5 separate regions of the Homo sapiens genome follow, and regions 1, 2, 4 and 5 are each linked to region 3. Evidence: promoter capture Hi-C in 16 types of primary human blood cells and fetal thymus (Javierre and others, 2016). All regions are on one chromosome and are shown on one strand. The core of a region is centred on a gene start or on the middle of the fragment in contact, and the rest is flanking DNA. Distances in the headings are between cores, read along the strand shown.

Region 1 (2,700 bases), core at 126-2,625, 660 kb before region 3:
CCTCCCAGGTTCAAGCTATTCTCCTGCCTCAGCCTCTGGAGTAGCTGGGACTACAGATGTGCACCACAATGCCCGGCTAATTTTTTTGTATATGTTTTTTGTAGTGACAGGGTTTTGCCATGTTGGCCAGGCTGATCTTGAACTCCTGACCTCATGATCCACCCTCTCAGCCTCTCAAAGTGCTGGGATTACAGGCGTGAGCCTCCACACCCAACCTGTATCACATTTATTGACTTGCAGATGTTAAACCATCCCTGCATCCTGGTATGAAAACCACTTGATTATGGTGTATGATCCATTTGATATGCTCTTAGATATTGTTAGCTAGTATTTTGTGGAGGATTTTTGCATCTATGTTCATCAGGGATATTGGTCTGTAGTTTTCTTTTTTTGTTATGTCCTTTCTGGGTTTTGGTAAATCCCAGAATGATTTAGGGAGGATTCCGTCTTTCTCTATCTTTTGGAATACTGTCAATAGGACTGGTACCAATTCTTTGAATGTCTGATAGAATTCAGCTGTGAGGCCATCTGGTCCTGGACTTTTTTTTGTTGGTAACTTTTTAATTACTCTTTCAATTTCGCTGCTTGTTATTGGTCTGTTCAGAGTTTCTATTTATTCCTGATTTAATCTAGAAGGGTTGTATATTTCTTGGAATTTATCCATCTCCTCTACATTTTCTAGTTTGTCCACATAATGGTGTTCAGAACAGTCTTGAATGATCTTTTGTATTTCCGTGGTATCAGTTGTAATAGCTCCCATTTCGTTTCTAATTGAGCTCATTTGGATCTTCTCTCTTCCTTTCTTGGTTAGTCTCACAGTCTATCAATTTTGTTTATCTTTCAAATAACCAGGTTTTGTTTCATTTCTCTTTTGTATTTTTTTGTTTTGATTTCATTTGGTTCTGCTCTGATCTTTGTTACTTATTTTTTCTGTTAGGTTTGGGTTGGTTTTTCTTTGTTTCTCTAGTTCCTTCAGGTGTGACTTTAGATTGCCTATTTATGCTCTTTCAGACTTTTTGATGTAAGCATTTAATGCTATGAACTTTCCTCATAGCACTGCTTTTGCTGTGTCCCAGAGGTTTTGACAAGCTGTGTCACTACTATTGTTCAGTTCAAAGAATTTTTTAATTTCCATCTTGATTTCATTGTTGACCTAAAGATCATTCAGGGGCAGATTATTGAATTTCCAAGTATTTGTATAGTTTTGAGGGTTCCTTTTGGAGTTAATTTCCAATTTTATTTCACTGTGGTCTGAGAGGGTACTTGATATTATTTTGATTTTCTTAAATTAATATTGAGACTTGTTTTGTGGCCTATCCTATGGTCTATCTTGGAGAATGTTCCATGTGCTGATGAGTAGAATGTATATTCTGCGGTTTTGGGGTAGAATGTTCTGTAAATATTTGTTAAGTCCATTTGTTCTGGGTATAGTTTAAATCCATTGTTTCCTTGTTGACTTTCTGTCTTGATGACCTCTCTAGTGCTGTCAGTGAAGCATTGAAGTCCCCCACTATTATTGTGTTGCCATCTATCTCATTTCTTAGGTCTAGTAATAATTATTTTATAAATTTGGGAGCTCCAGTGTTGGGTGCATATATATTTAGGATTATGATATTTTCTTGTTGGATGGATCTTTTTATCATTACATAATGTCTCCCTTTGTCTTTTTCAACTGTTGTTGTTTTAAAGTCTGTTTTGTCTGATATAAGAATAGCTACTCCTGCTCACTTTTGGTTTCCATTTTCATGGGGTATCTTTTTCCACCCCATTACCTTAAGTGAGTTCTTATGCGTTAAGTGAATCTCTTGAAGAGAGCAGATACTTGGTGGGTGGATTTTTATCCATGCTGCCATTCTGTATTTTTTAAGTGAGCATTTAGGTCATTTACATTCAACATAAGTACTGAGATGTGAGGTACTGTTTTATTCATCGTGCTAGCTGTTGCCTGAACATCTTGGGTTTTTTCTTTTTGTTAGTGTTTAATAGGCCCTGTGAGATTTACACTTTAACGAGGTTCTATTTTGGTGTATTTCGAGGTTTTGTTTCAGGATTTAGATCTCGTTTTAGCATTTCTTGTGGTGCTGACTTGGTAGTGATGAATTCACTCAACATTTGTTTGTCTGAAAGATGACCTTATCTCTCCTTCATTTATGAAGCTCAGTTTTGCTGGATACAAAATTCTTGGCTGAAATATACTGTGTTTGAGGAGGCTAAGGATAGACCCCAATTCACTTCTGGCTTATAGGGTTTCTGCTGAGAAATCTGCTGTTAATCTGATAGGTTTTCCTTTATAGGTTACCTGATGCTTTCGCCTCACAGCTCTTGAGATTCTTTCCTTTGTTCTTGACTTTATATAACCTGATGACAACTATGTGACTGGGTAATGATCTTTTTGTGATGAATTTACCAGGTGTTTTTTGAGCTTCTTGTATTTGGATGTTTAGTTCTCTGGTGAGGCCAGGCAAGGTTTCCTCAATTATGTTTCCCAAACTTTTAGATTTATCTTCTTCCTCAGGAACACCAATTATTCTTGGGTTTGGTTAACATAATCACAAATTTCTTGGAGGCTTTGTTCATTTTTTTTTCTTTGTCTTTTTTGGATTAGGTTACTTCGAAAGCCTTGTCTTCAAGCTCTGACATTCTTTTTCCTACTCATTCAACATCATTGTTGAAACTTTCTGGTGCATTTTGTATTTCTCT
Region 2 (2,700 bases), core at 31-2,530, 790 kb after region 3:
GTTTGCAGTGAGCCGAGATCGTCCCATTGCACTCCAGCTTGGGTGACACAGCAAGACTCCGTCTCAAAAGAAAAGAAAAGAAAAGAAAATCAGAATCATATGTAGCTTTGTGAAAAGCTTGGTTACTGACTGTTGCTGGAATCAAGAGCTACTACAGTGTCATACTTCGAGTTTGCCGTACTTTGCCATTGTACTTGTGCCTGATAATTATTTCTACAATGACTGCATGTAGATCTAAACTAGATTAGTGTCGTTAAATCCTCTGCATTAGATCTTAAGAGCTCTTCCATTCTTTTTCGTTGACATCTTCAAAACTAGAATCCTACAAGAGCAACAACTTTGTGTTTTTTTTTTTTTTTTCATTCTTCCATCACAAAGAAAGGGGCAACAATTTTCATCTTGGCGTTTCTTCAAAGCCTTTGAATTCCATCATAAATTGCCAGATTAGTTTTCTTCATCCACTGTGCACCTTCTTTGGAGAAACTCTTTGCTTCACCTTGTTGATGAACCCTAAAGCCCTCCCTGCGTTTTTTTAATGAAAAAGAAGAAACAATGAAGCCCCCAGAAAGTATCCAATCAAGCCACTGTCATAGCCAACCTAAAAGAATAAATGACCCATGCAGATGCAATGTTTAACATTATCTTTAAACTTAATGGTGGCATGAAGAGAAGGCTTTCTTTTAAAAAACAGCCTGCTATATCTTATAATACCATATAAAGAAATTTACAAATGTAAGCTACTGGTTTAACTGCATACTGCTCCATTTTGCAATTTTTTTTGCATCCTAAAGCACAGATCATCTCCCCTGAGGATTTATCAATGCCTTCCTGTTTTGGAATCTCCATAGCAGCACTAGAAAAGATAGAGTATCCTTTCTTTTGAACTTGGGAGTTTCCCTGAAATCACCCCTTTGCCACCCAGCTCATCAGCATTGTCCCCTTTGGCACCATCCCCTTTTTCTCAAATTTCTTTATGCTTCAAGTCTCCATTTAACAGTTAATTAGGACCAGGTGTGTTGGTGCACACCTGTAATCCCAGCAGTTTGGGAGGCTGAGGTGGGTGGACAGCTTGAGCCCAGGAGTTCAAGAGCAGTCTGGGTAACACAGGGAGACCCTACAAATAATTTAAAAACATTAGCCAGGTGTGGTGGCGTACCTGTGGTCCCAGCTACTCAGGAGGCTGAGGCAGGAGGATCTCCTGAGCCCAGGGGATATAGGCTGCTGTGAGCTGTGATTGCGCCACTGCACTTCAGCCTGGGTAGCAGAGTGAGACCATGTCTCAAAACAAACAAAAAACAGTTAACTAAAAGAAACCACCTGGTTTTAATTGTAATTTTAAAATTTCCTTATTTATTAATGTGTAATTGCTGGGCCACATAGTAAACATATTGTTTATTATCAGGCATGAAAACTATATTGTGCTATTACATTCAGAAGCAACTGAGAGTTAACAATCATATTAAAAATTTTTTTTTTTTTGAGACGGAGTCTTGTTCTGTTGCCCAGGCTGGAGTGTAGTGGCACCATCTCGGCTCACTGCAACCTCCGCCTCCCAGGTTCAAGTGATTCTCCTGCCTCAGCCTCCTGAGTAGCTGGGATTACAGGTGTCCACCACCATGTCTGGCTACTTTTTGTATTTTTAGTAGAGATGGAGTTTCACCATAGGCCAGGCTGGTCTTGAACTTATGACCTCAGGTGATCCACCAAGCTCAGCCTCCCAAAGTGTTGGGATTATAGGTATCAGCCACCGTGCCCAGCTCGTATTAATTGTTTGGTGAATAAGATGTTATTTGTATAGTATTGTACATCTTAACATGATCATTTTTTGTTAATATTTGATACTATGTTTTAAATACTTGTTAAGAATTTTTTGGTTGATATGTAATGCATTTTATTTTTTCCCATTTAAAACTAAGTTCCTATTCAGCATTTTCTTGTGAAAGGATCACAGATATTCAGGAATGGATTATTGAAAAAAAATAAGCCTGCACTGCTATTTCTGTAATTTTTTGGATAAGTTTATGCTGTGTTTTTGATCTTCTTAGTTTCTGAATTGGAGATTTGAAAAAAATTGTGATTATCTTGTTCCTATTCTACCATTGTATATTGGATGTGTTGAGGCGGATGATAACTTTATCATGAGATCTGCATCTGGTCCTGAGGAATATTCTGGACTTTGGCTAGGATTCAGCAACTGCATGGAATTTTAGGTTGTCTCCCTTGGAAAAGGGAAGGTATGTCTATCTGTAGAAAGAATGGTGTGCCCGGATATTTGGGTAGCCAGAGACATAGAACTATGGCAGACACTGCTAGTTGCCTCTAATATCTGTTTTTTCCATTTTGCTCAGTAATAAAACCTCAAATGTTAGCTGGGCATTTGTCCCATTAATTAAAAAAGATTGTATTCACCATCCTCTCTTGCAATGAAGTGTGGCCATGTGATTAAGCTTTGTCCAAGGAACGTAAGTTGTAGTAGTTTGTATGGATCTTCTGGGAAGTTTTTTTAAAAACAGGAAGTATGCCCTTTTCTCCCCGCCCCCGCCCCCCCGTTTTTTTTTTTTTTTTTTTTTTGAGATAGAGTCTCTCTCTGTTGCCAAGGCAACAGTGGTGTGATCTTGGCCCACTGCAACCTCTGCCTCCTGAGTTCAAGCGATTCTCCTGCCTCAGTCCCTGAGTAGCTACGATTACAGGAGCGTGTCA
Region 3 (2,700 bases), core at 2-2,501:
TTTTTCGGCTTCTTTATTTCAAAGTCTTCACTGCAGAAACCTCTCATTCTGACCTGCCTTTGCTTTACTTCCTTTTCTCATTCTCAACCAAGAGTTCTCTCTTTATCTACAAAAGAAAGAGTGACTTGCAATCTGCAGATAAGGAAACTGATGTCCTGGTTATAAAGTTATCATGCAGAAATAATTCAAGTATACTAGAATTTTATGGATGGTGCACTCTAGGTGGGTAATGAGGTCTAGAAGAGAAAAGATATACAACATCAAGCAGGTGCCCAAGAAATGGTAGGTCCCTTTCTCCCTTCCTGCCTCCTCATTTTTACAGATGAGGACATTTTTACAGAAGCCCGAATAGATAAGTAGTCACAATCATGTTCTAAGAAAAACAAAAAAAAGGTGGCGGATGCCGTATTTTATTTTTCGTCATCACTCTCCTTTTCCTGCTGCTCATTCAGTTATGGTTTCATGACCCATATAATAATTCCACAAGGCTCACCAATGTTATCTGGCACCTGCTAGAGAATAGATATAGTAACAGAGGCAAATATTTTGGTGAAGTTTAACAGTTGTGTTGCCTTCTAGAATTTCATTGTATCTGATGTGCAAAAACAAGCAAAACATTGTCGGTTAAGTATCACAATCTCATAATGGAGATGAGCACTGATTCTTAGGCCTTGGCGTAGTTCAGGGCCTATCCTTTAGCAGCTAAAAAGAGCACTTTGGCTGTAACTCATTGGAGTCTAGTCTCATAATGTTAGGATATTTCTATTTAAGTCTTAACCACTATTGGTAGCAACTGGAAGGATAATCATTCATTACAATAAATAGTCAACAGAATAAATATCCGACAAGAATTTACGAAGCGTCTAGAGTATAATTCGGTAGCGCTTTGAAATCCACCCTGGGATTCGGAAACCGGGTAGAAAACTACCTGGTTCAGCAAACGAGAATTCAAACAGAGGAGGGGCTTGGAGGAGGCGGGTTTCGACGAACCCAGCGCAAGAGTACGCCACGGCGCCTGCGCATCCCCTGACGGGTACTTTCCATTCGCCAGATGGGGGAAGCCAGGGGGAAGCAGGTTACTGTTTTTGCATTTCTATCTTCAAGGAAGAATTAGGTTATGAATAGTTCCGTGAATAGTCAGGAAGCGCTGTCCTCCAAGTTCAAGATTAAGGAAACGTGGCATGCACAGCTAAAGCAAGAGGTGACGTCTTGTATCTTCCCCCGTTTCCTGGGACATTGGTGGTGTAGCCCATTCCACAGACTTTCGCTCCCTAGCAGCGGGTCGGAGATCGAAGGAACGGGCCAATTGCGGCTGAAACGTCTTTGGAAGGAGGAAGGGGGTGAGGGAGCATCCCTTTGAGTTTCGCCTCTTCTCGAGGCGGTGGTGGGAAGGGAGACATACTTAATACTGCCCTCTTAATCCAACGGACCTTACATCGTGTAGACTGCCGGGAGGGCGGCGGGAAAAGGGCAAGACGGGAGTTGGGGAAGGGAAGGAGCCAGGAAGCCGCGCGGGAGGGCGCGCGCGCGCGCCCCTTTTTCAGCAGTGTGGCGGGGTCGCACGCACGCCCGCCTCGGCGGCTGGGCGCGATTTGCGACAGTGGGGGGGGCGGTGGAGGTGGCGGCGGCAGCGGCAACTTTGCGGCAAGCTCGGGCCGGGCTTGCTTGACGGCGGTGTGGCGGAGGCCCCGCCCCAGGCGGCAGGAACCTGGAGGGAGGCGGAGGAATATGTCCGAGAGGGAAGTGTCGACTGCGCCGGCGGGAACAGACATGCCTGCGGCCAAGAAGCAGAAGCTGAGCAGTGACGAGAACAGCAATCCAGACCTCTCTGGAGACGAGAATGTAAGTGCAGCTTCTGGCAGTTACGAGACTGCGGAGTGAAAGTTTTAAATTCTTTTAAAACGGGGGGCGCGGGGACGAGCGGGCTGCTGTGGGGGGAGGGAGAGGTGTCACTCAGGAAAACGCGGGCGTGCGGGAGAAAATTGAAATTGCCTACGGGGATTTTGATGTGGGGCCGAGAGCAAGCAGGAACTAGGCAAAGGAGAGTGGTTCTAGTGATTGCGTGGGTCTGAGAAGTCTGCCCTGAAATCAGTTTGCATGTGATGGGGAGTGTTTTGGCCTTTGGGGGGATTTAAGGGGAGAGTGCGGGTCTGAGATTCTAGTAGTTTAAAAGGCACGTTAGAGACTTTTCTAAGAAAGTTGGAAGGACGGGGCAGAGTTAGGGACCCTGTTAAAGGAGCGTAAGGGTTGTCACTCTAAGACCCTTGTGGAATTTTCAGGATGGAAAGTGATCTTCGATTTGCGGAGTTTGGGAGACTTTATTAAAGGGGGTTTTGTGTCCGCCTCCGTCCTGTCCGCGGAGACCGGGTGCGCCTGAAGGTCGCCTTTTCTGTAGGAGGAGCCGAATTGAGAGGATCGATTTTTGATTTGGGGGTGGGGAGTGACTACCTTTGAGGAAGTAAGAGTGGGTGATTTCTTCTTTGAACGTTTTTACTTAAGATAAAGGTGAGGGGGGTGGCGACCTGGAAGATTTTGGGCAACAGTGGTATAGGCAGATGTATTTAAGTGTGGGTTCCTGGCTTCGCCAAGTGCGCGATGTTTTGCAATCAGATTTTTTTAAGCTCTGAAATGGGTATTCGTAATCATTCGGTACCAACATTTAACCCAACTGAGTTTTAATTGACTCGCCAGTAAGAGCCG
Region 4 (2,700 bases), core at 178-2,677, 640 kb before region 3:
TTCATGGATGCCCTTTCTCAATCACATTTATTAGTTCCCTCTAATTTCTCAATGAGGGCTTAAGATGTTTAGAATACCTCTGAACATGGTAAGACTTCTTTAATCTTACTCCCTGGATAATCTTACCCAGTTTCCTTGATAATCTTATCTAATTCCGTAGTTTTAAATATTACCAGCACCCTCAAGACTTCCGAATGTATATCTGTAGCTCAGAACTTTACTCTGAATTCCAGACTCATATCCAGCTGAATGCTCAACATTTCCATTTGGATGTCTAATAAGCATCTCAAACTTCACTTGTCAAAACTGAACTCCAGATCTTATCCACCCACCCTCAGTCTGCTTCTCCTCCAATGTATCTCCATCTTTCACCCTTCCAATTATTCAGACCCAAATTCCTGAAGTCAGCATTCATTCTTTTCTCTAATTCTCTACATCTATCCATCAGTAAATCCTGTGGGCTCCAACATCAAATTATATGCAGAATCCCATCACTTCTCCCTACCTCCAGTGCCACCACCCTGGCACAACCCATCATCATCTATCCCCTACATTACTGCAATGTTCTACTAGTTTACATGCTGTCACCTTTGCCCTCCTACAGTCTTTTCTCTTTTTTTTCTTTTTTCTTTCTGTCTTTGTTTGTTTGTTTTGTTTTTTGTTTTCTTTTAAGCAGGATCTCTCTCTGTCACCCAGATGGGAATGTAGTGGGGCAATCACTGCACATTTCAGCATCAGCCTCCCAGGCTCAAGTGATCCTCCCAAATCATTTTTTGAATTCTGATTTTTTTGTAGAGATGAGGTCTCACTATGTTGCCCAGGCTGGCCTACAGTCTTTTCTAAACCCAATAGCCAAAAATATCCTTTCAAGTCATCAACTAGATTATGTCATTCCTCAACTCAAACCCTCCAGTGTCTCCCCATCCCACTCAGAGCAAAGGCCCACCTCTCTGACTTCAGCTCTTAGACCTCTCCTCTTGCTCAATCTACTCCAACCACAGTATGCTGTTTCTCAAATATATCAAGAACTCTCCTATATCATGGCCTCTATACTTGTGATTCTGCCTATAACACTCTTCTCTCAGGTATCCATAAAGCTTGCTCCTTCACTTCTTTCATATCTCTGCTTATATATCATCTTAGTAGTAAGGCCTTCCCTAATACTCCTATATAACATAGCAAACTTCAAGCTTATCCCCTTGAAGGAAATGAGAATTTCAATTGGGCAATAAGAGATGGAGGAGGACATTGCGTAACTACTCCTCTTCTATCTAGTAAGATTAGAAATATAGAAATAAATGTGGATGAACAGAGAGCTCACTCCAATTTATATTAACAAAGAATGGTGATATAAATGTGTGCTAATATATTTGCATAAACTTTAATTTTTAAAAATGATTTCACACTTTACTTGCGTAATGTTTTAACAACTCTGAATCAAGGACAAATATTTTAATCCCCATTTTGTCAATAATTAAACAATCAGCAGTTTCCCCAAAATGATGGTGGCTCACTTTCTAACCCATCCCTACACACTATTTACAAATATAAATAGTTACTTTACTTACCACTGTAGGTGATCAACAATACAATAATTATACTATACCTCTCTCTCTACTTATATGTATCTGTGGGCTCTAATCACGTGATTACCTCTAGTGCCCAAAGCTTTAGTCTTTTTCATTTCCTCATTAAAGTCTGCCGACATTTTTCGGGAAACCTACAAGTGCTGAGCACCTTTTTCTTTTCTCTCTCTTTTTTTTTTTAATACAATTATAACTAAAGCCTTTTTTTTTAAGCTTCTGTGGCATTGTTGTAGGTATTACCCTAGTCGTTTATTCTTTTAAAGGGCAATTCTTGGCCAGGCACGGTGGCTCACACCTATAATTCCAGCACTTTGGGTGGCCAAGGTGGAAGGATGGCTTGAGACCGGGAGTTCGAGACCAGCCTGGGCAACAGAGCAAAACCCTTTCTCTACAACAAAATTTTAAAATTAGCCAGGTGTGGTGGTGCACGTCTGCACTCCCAGCTACTCAGAAGGCTGAGATGGGAGGATCATTTAAGCCCAGGAGTTCGAGGCTTCAGTGGGCCACCATCCTGCTACTGCACTCCAGCCTGGGCTACAGAGTGAGACCCTGTCTCTAAATAAATAAGTAAAATACCCTGTCTCTAAGTAAATAAGTAAAATTAAGAGCAATTCTCAAAAATGTATTAACAATATTCCCACAATCACATCTACAAATATAATTAGATAAGTAAGGGGAATTTCACTCACTCATTTAGCATATATTTATCCAATAACTATAAAGGGAAAATACTGTATTGATTCAAAACAGCTAGATGTTTTCTAAACCAGCAGAGCTTACTATGCCTCTCATCGCTGTAGGATAAAAATTTGACACATAAAAAATGCTAAAATATTTTTAAAAGGTCGTATATAATCAAGTCTCCAAGTTAGGCTTTCACACACCAGCATCTAGGGCTGGAATTGTGGCTGCCCTTTTATGCTGCTTTTGATTATTGAGAATGATCATCACCTGGAGTCAATTCTATTATGCTCTTCAACTCTCTCTACTCAAATCCTTATTTCTGGTTAATGAAAGTTTGAAGGTAATCTAAAAATGACAAATTAAACAAATGAGACAAATGGCAAGGATCTTTTCATACAAATTAAAAATCCCTAACCTAATCTCCATAAAT
Region 5 (2,700 bases), core at 157-2,656, 530 kb before region 3:
TATCAGATCATTAGTGAATTATTGGAAGGATAGGACTCTGCCTTGTTGATCTGGAATGGTGTTTTACATGTAACTGGCACTCAACAAATGTGACTGATGATAAGTCTCAAAGGGAACAGATGAGCAAGGCCTGATTGCATTTCCACTTTCTTTAATACCTAGTTCAACCCTATACCCCATGCAAAATGATAGAGCTTAATTCTGGCATCTCTGATACACAAACCCAGATGATTTGAACTCTCTTCTGTGTGGAGCTATGAGACAGCAGGTTAAAACTGAAGGAAGGAGAAAAATTAAAAACCAGGAACTTATATAATTTGCCTCGAAAATACATATACACACACACACACACACACACACACACACTTTTTTTTTCAATTAGAGTCTCACTCTATCGCCTAGGCTGGAGTGCAGTGGCACAATCTCGGCTCACTACAGCCTCTGCCTCCCGGGTTCAAGCAATTCCCCTGCCTTACCCTCTCAAGTAGCTGGGATTATAGACATGAGCCACCATGCCCGGCTAATTTTTTGAATTTTTAGTAGAGACAGGGTTTTGCTATGTTGGCCAGGCTGGTCTCAAACTCCTGGGCCTCAAGGGATCTGCCCGTCTCAGTTTCCCAAAGTGCCAGGATTACAGGCATAAGCTACCATGCCCGGCCTCATATTATTATATGGTTGAACTGCATGGCATGCCTACTGTTGGCTTCTAGCTAATGAATTACTTCCAAAGAATGAGTGATTCTTTCCAAAGGAAACTGTAACATGTGCTCTTAACCATAGGCAAGGGCTGAATATTTGCAGATACAGTTCATCAAAGGCCCAAGAATGGACAAAAGGATGCCCAGGCCAGTGACAGAATATAATTTATGTGTTGCCCAGAGCTTTCCTCAACATTCCATCTACTAAGAGAATTCTTGATAATGAAGCCTTTTATTTCACCGTTAGAAATCAGACCAAAACTACAAACAGTAGCAGCTAACATTTACCAGGTACTCATTATATGCCAAGCACTGTGCTATGTGTTTTCCCTGCATTATCCTACCGATACCCCACAACCTCACGTGGTAGGTGCAAGGAAACCAGACTCAGAGAAGGTACTGAATGTGTCCATGATCACACAGAAAATTAGTATCATAACCAGGACTAGGGATATCTGGCTCCAAAGCTTAGGCTCCTAACTACCTGACTGCAAGAACATGGAATCTTAATTAAGTCAAAGGACCTGAGTTAAAGTCCTAGATCTACTCTTCAGTAGCTATTGGATTTGGGGAAAGTTATTTAACCTCTCTGCGGCTCTTTCTTCATTTGTAAAATGAAGAAAATAGTCCTTACCACATATAGTTAGTAAGAGTGAGATGACAGAATGAGTATTAGGTACCTGGCACATATTAGGTACTCAATGAATAGTAAATTATAGTCATGTGCTTTCTTAAGACCGTACAGTATATAGTATAGTCATTAACAGCAGGCAACTTGGATCTGTGCTCCAGTCCTGGTTGAACCCCCTTCTAGCTGAGTGAGGTTAATCTCCCTTAGTCTCAGTTTCCTCACCTGTAATGTGTGGGGATAATGATGGTGCCTGCCTCCTAGGGTTGTTGAAGGATTAAATGATATATGTAAAGTGCCTGGCACCCAGTAAATACTCCTTAAAGCTTGATGTGTCATTGTTACTTTATTAACAAACACTTTCAAACTAGTCATGCTGCCTAAATTAAGTTTTCACAAATCAAGTCTACTCCAAACTACAGAGGAATAATCAGTTCATATACCTTCCTGGATTTCTTATTTTGTACTAACTTTGAAACAAAAGTCACATTCCCAAATCTATGCAATTTGACTTCACTAACCAAAAGGAGTTACTGTTTGAGTCAAATGAGATGTGCCTTTCCCTGTTCCAGGATGAACAACACTACTTCTATTGACTTGAAAGGCAAGGGCCAGTCCTTCTGACCTCTTTGATCTCTGCCACAGTGGAATACAAACACACCAACCTTGGCATAGCAATTCCAACCCTCTGTCTCCATTTTTCTGAAGGTACAAAAGACAAACTTGCCTCATCTTGGAGAAATGCTGGAACAGACTTGCTCATCCTTTTGAGTTTGTCAGGGTGAGAAAATGGATTATCAGGTTGTGTAGGCACTGTGGAAACTAAACAGCAGCATTTCCATTTCAAAATTATTCTTACAATTGTCAGAAAACATTAGACATTAAGTTGAAAACATACTTTTATTTAATCTATGAACAAACATGTTTTTGTAAAAAAGTTAAAGGCAGAGTAGTCCACATGCACAGGATCATGAGATTAGCAACATGCAGTTTTTATAAATTATATAGAGAGAGAACTAGCAAGGAGTTGAACCAAATACAAAACAAAGTTAATTTTAAAAACATTAGTTTTTATTGAACTGGAGCTGCACTTGAATCAAATTATACTGTCAGTGTGAATTGGTTTAGCTTATTTTTTCACAACAGAGCTTCAGACCACAAAGTCTGTACTTTATTGGTTCATCTCCTTGAGATATATCACTAACACACTGCAGGCTGAAAAACTATTTCATCTGGACAGTCAAGATTTTTGTACACAACTCAATAATAAAACTGTTCTGGTTGTTGAGTGTCTTAGAGTAGGTTTGTTTAGTGAGCATGAGGATTACTTTTCTGATAGTGTTTTACACTCAGAATTATAAAATAAACATTATT

Evidence for each region. The method cuts DNA at HindIII sites, captures the fragments that hold promoters and counts their contacts. A CHiCAGO score of 5 or more calls a contact.
Region 1: a fragment that was not itself captured here is called in contact with the fragment with the promoter of EED in region 3 in 2 of 17 cell types (non-activated CD4 T cells and naive CD4 T cells); the score reaches 6.2 in non-activated CD4 T cells.
Region 2: a fragment that was not itself captured here is called in contact with the fragment with the promoter of EED in region 3 in 2 of 17 cell types (non-activated CD4 T cells and naive CD4 T cells); the score reaches 6.3 in non-activated CD4 T cells.
Region 4: a fragment that was not itself captured here is called in contact with the fragment with the promoter of EED in region 3 in 15 of 17 cell types (non-activated CD4 T cells, activated CD4 T cells, naive CD8 T cells and 12 more); the score reaches 21.8 in non-activated CD4 T cells.
Region 5: a fragment that was not itself captured here is called in contact with the fragment with the promoter of EED in region 3 in 3 of 17 cell types (activated CD4 T cells, total CD4 T cells and naive CD4 T cells); the score reaches 7.7 in activated CD4 T cells.

Annotation. Positions count from the first base shown.
Region 1 is chr11:85,585,801-85,588,500 of GRCh38, forward strand. All of the region lies in intron 3 of DLG2 (discs large MAGUK scaffold protein 2), which reads right to left. Among named protein-coding and RNA genes, the nearest start is that of DLG2, 40 kb to the right of the region's middle. The HindIII fragment of the contact is 4,371 bases long and covers 1-2,700 here.
Region 2 is chr11:87,033,716-87,036,415 of GRCh38, forward strand. The region is part of intron 1 of LOC105369422 (a long non-coding RNA gene); the gene reads right to left. Among named protein-coding and RNA genes, the nearest start is that of TMEM135, 2.9 kb to the right of the region's middle. The HindIII fragment of the contact is 2,330 bases long and covers 116-2,445 here.
Region 3 is chr11:86,243,502-86,246,201 of GRCh38, forward strand. It overlaps EED (embryonic ectoderm development), which reads left to right and starts at 1,252. Exons shown (of 12, transcript NM_003797.5): 1 at 1,252-1,842. The coding sequence starts at 1,729. RefSeq lists enhancers at 705-1,235, 1,236-1,764. The HindIII fragment of the contact is 4,943 bases long and covers 1-2,700 here.
Region 4 is chr11:85,601,775-85,604,474 of GRCh38, forward strand. The region is part of intron 2 of DLG2 (discs large MAGUK scaffold protein 2); the gene reads right to left. Among named protein-coding and RNA genes, the nearest start is that of DLG2, 24 kb to the right of the region's middle. The HindIII fragment of the contact is 478 bases long and covers 1,189-1,666 here.
Region 5 is chr11:85,712,360-85,715,059 of GRCh38, forward strand. SYTL2 (synaptotagmin like 2) reads right to left here. Exons shown (of 20, transcript NM_206927.4): 12 at 2,054-2,148. Among named protein-coding and RNA genes, the nearest start is that of CCDC89, 28 kb to the left of the region's middle. The HindIII fragment of the contact is 487 bases long and covers 1,164-1,650 here.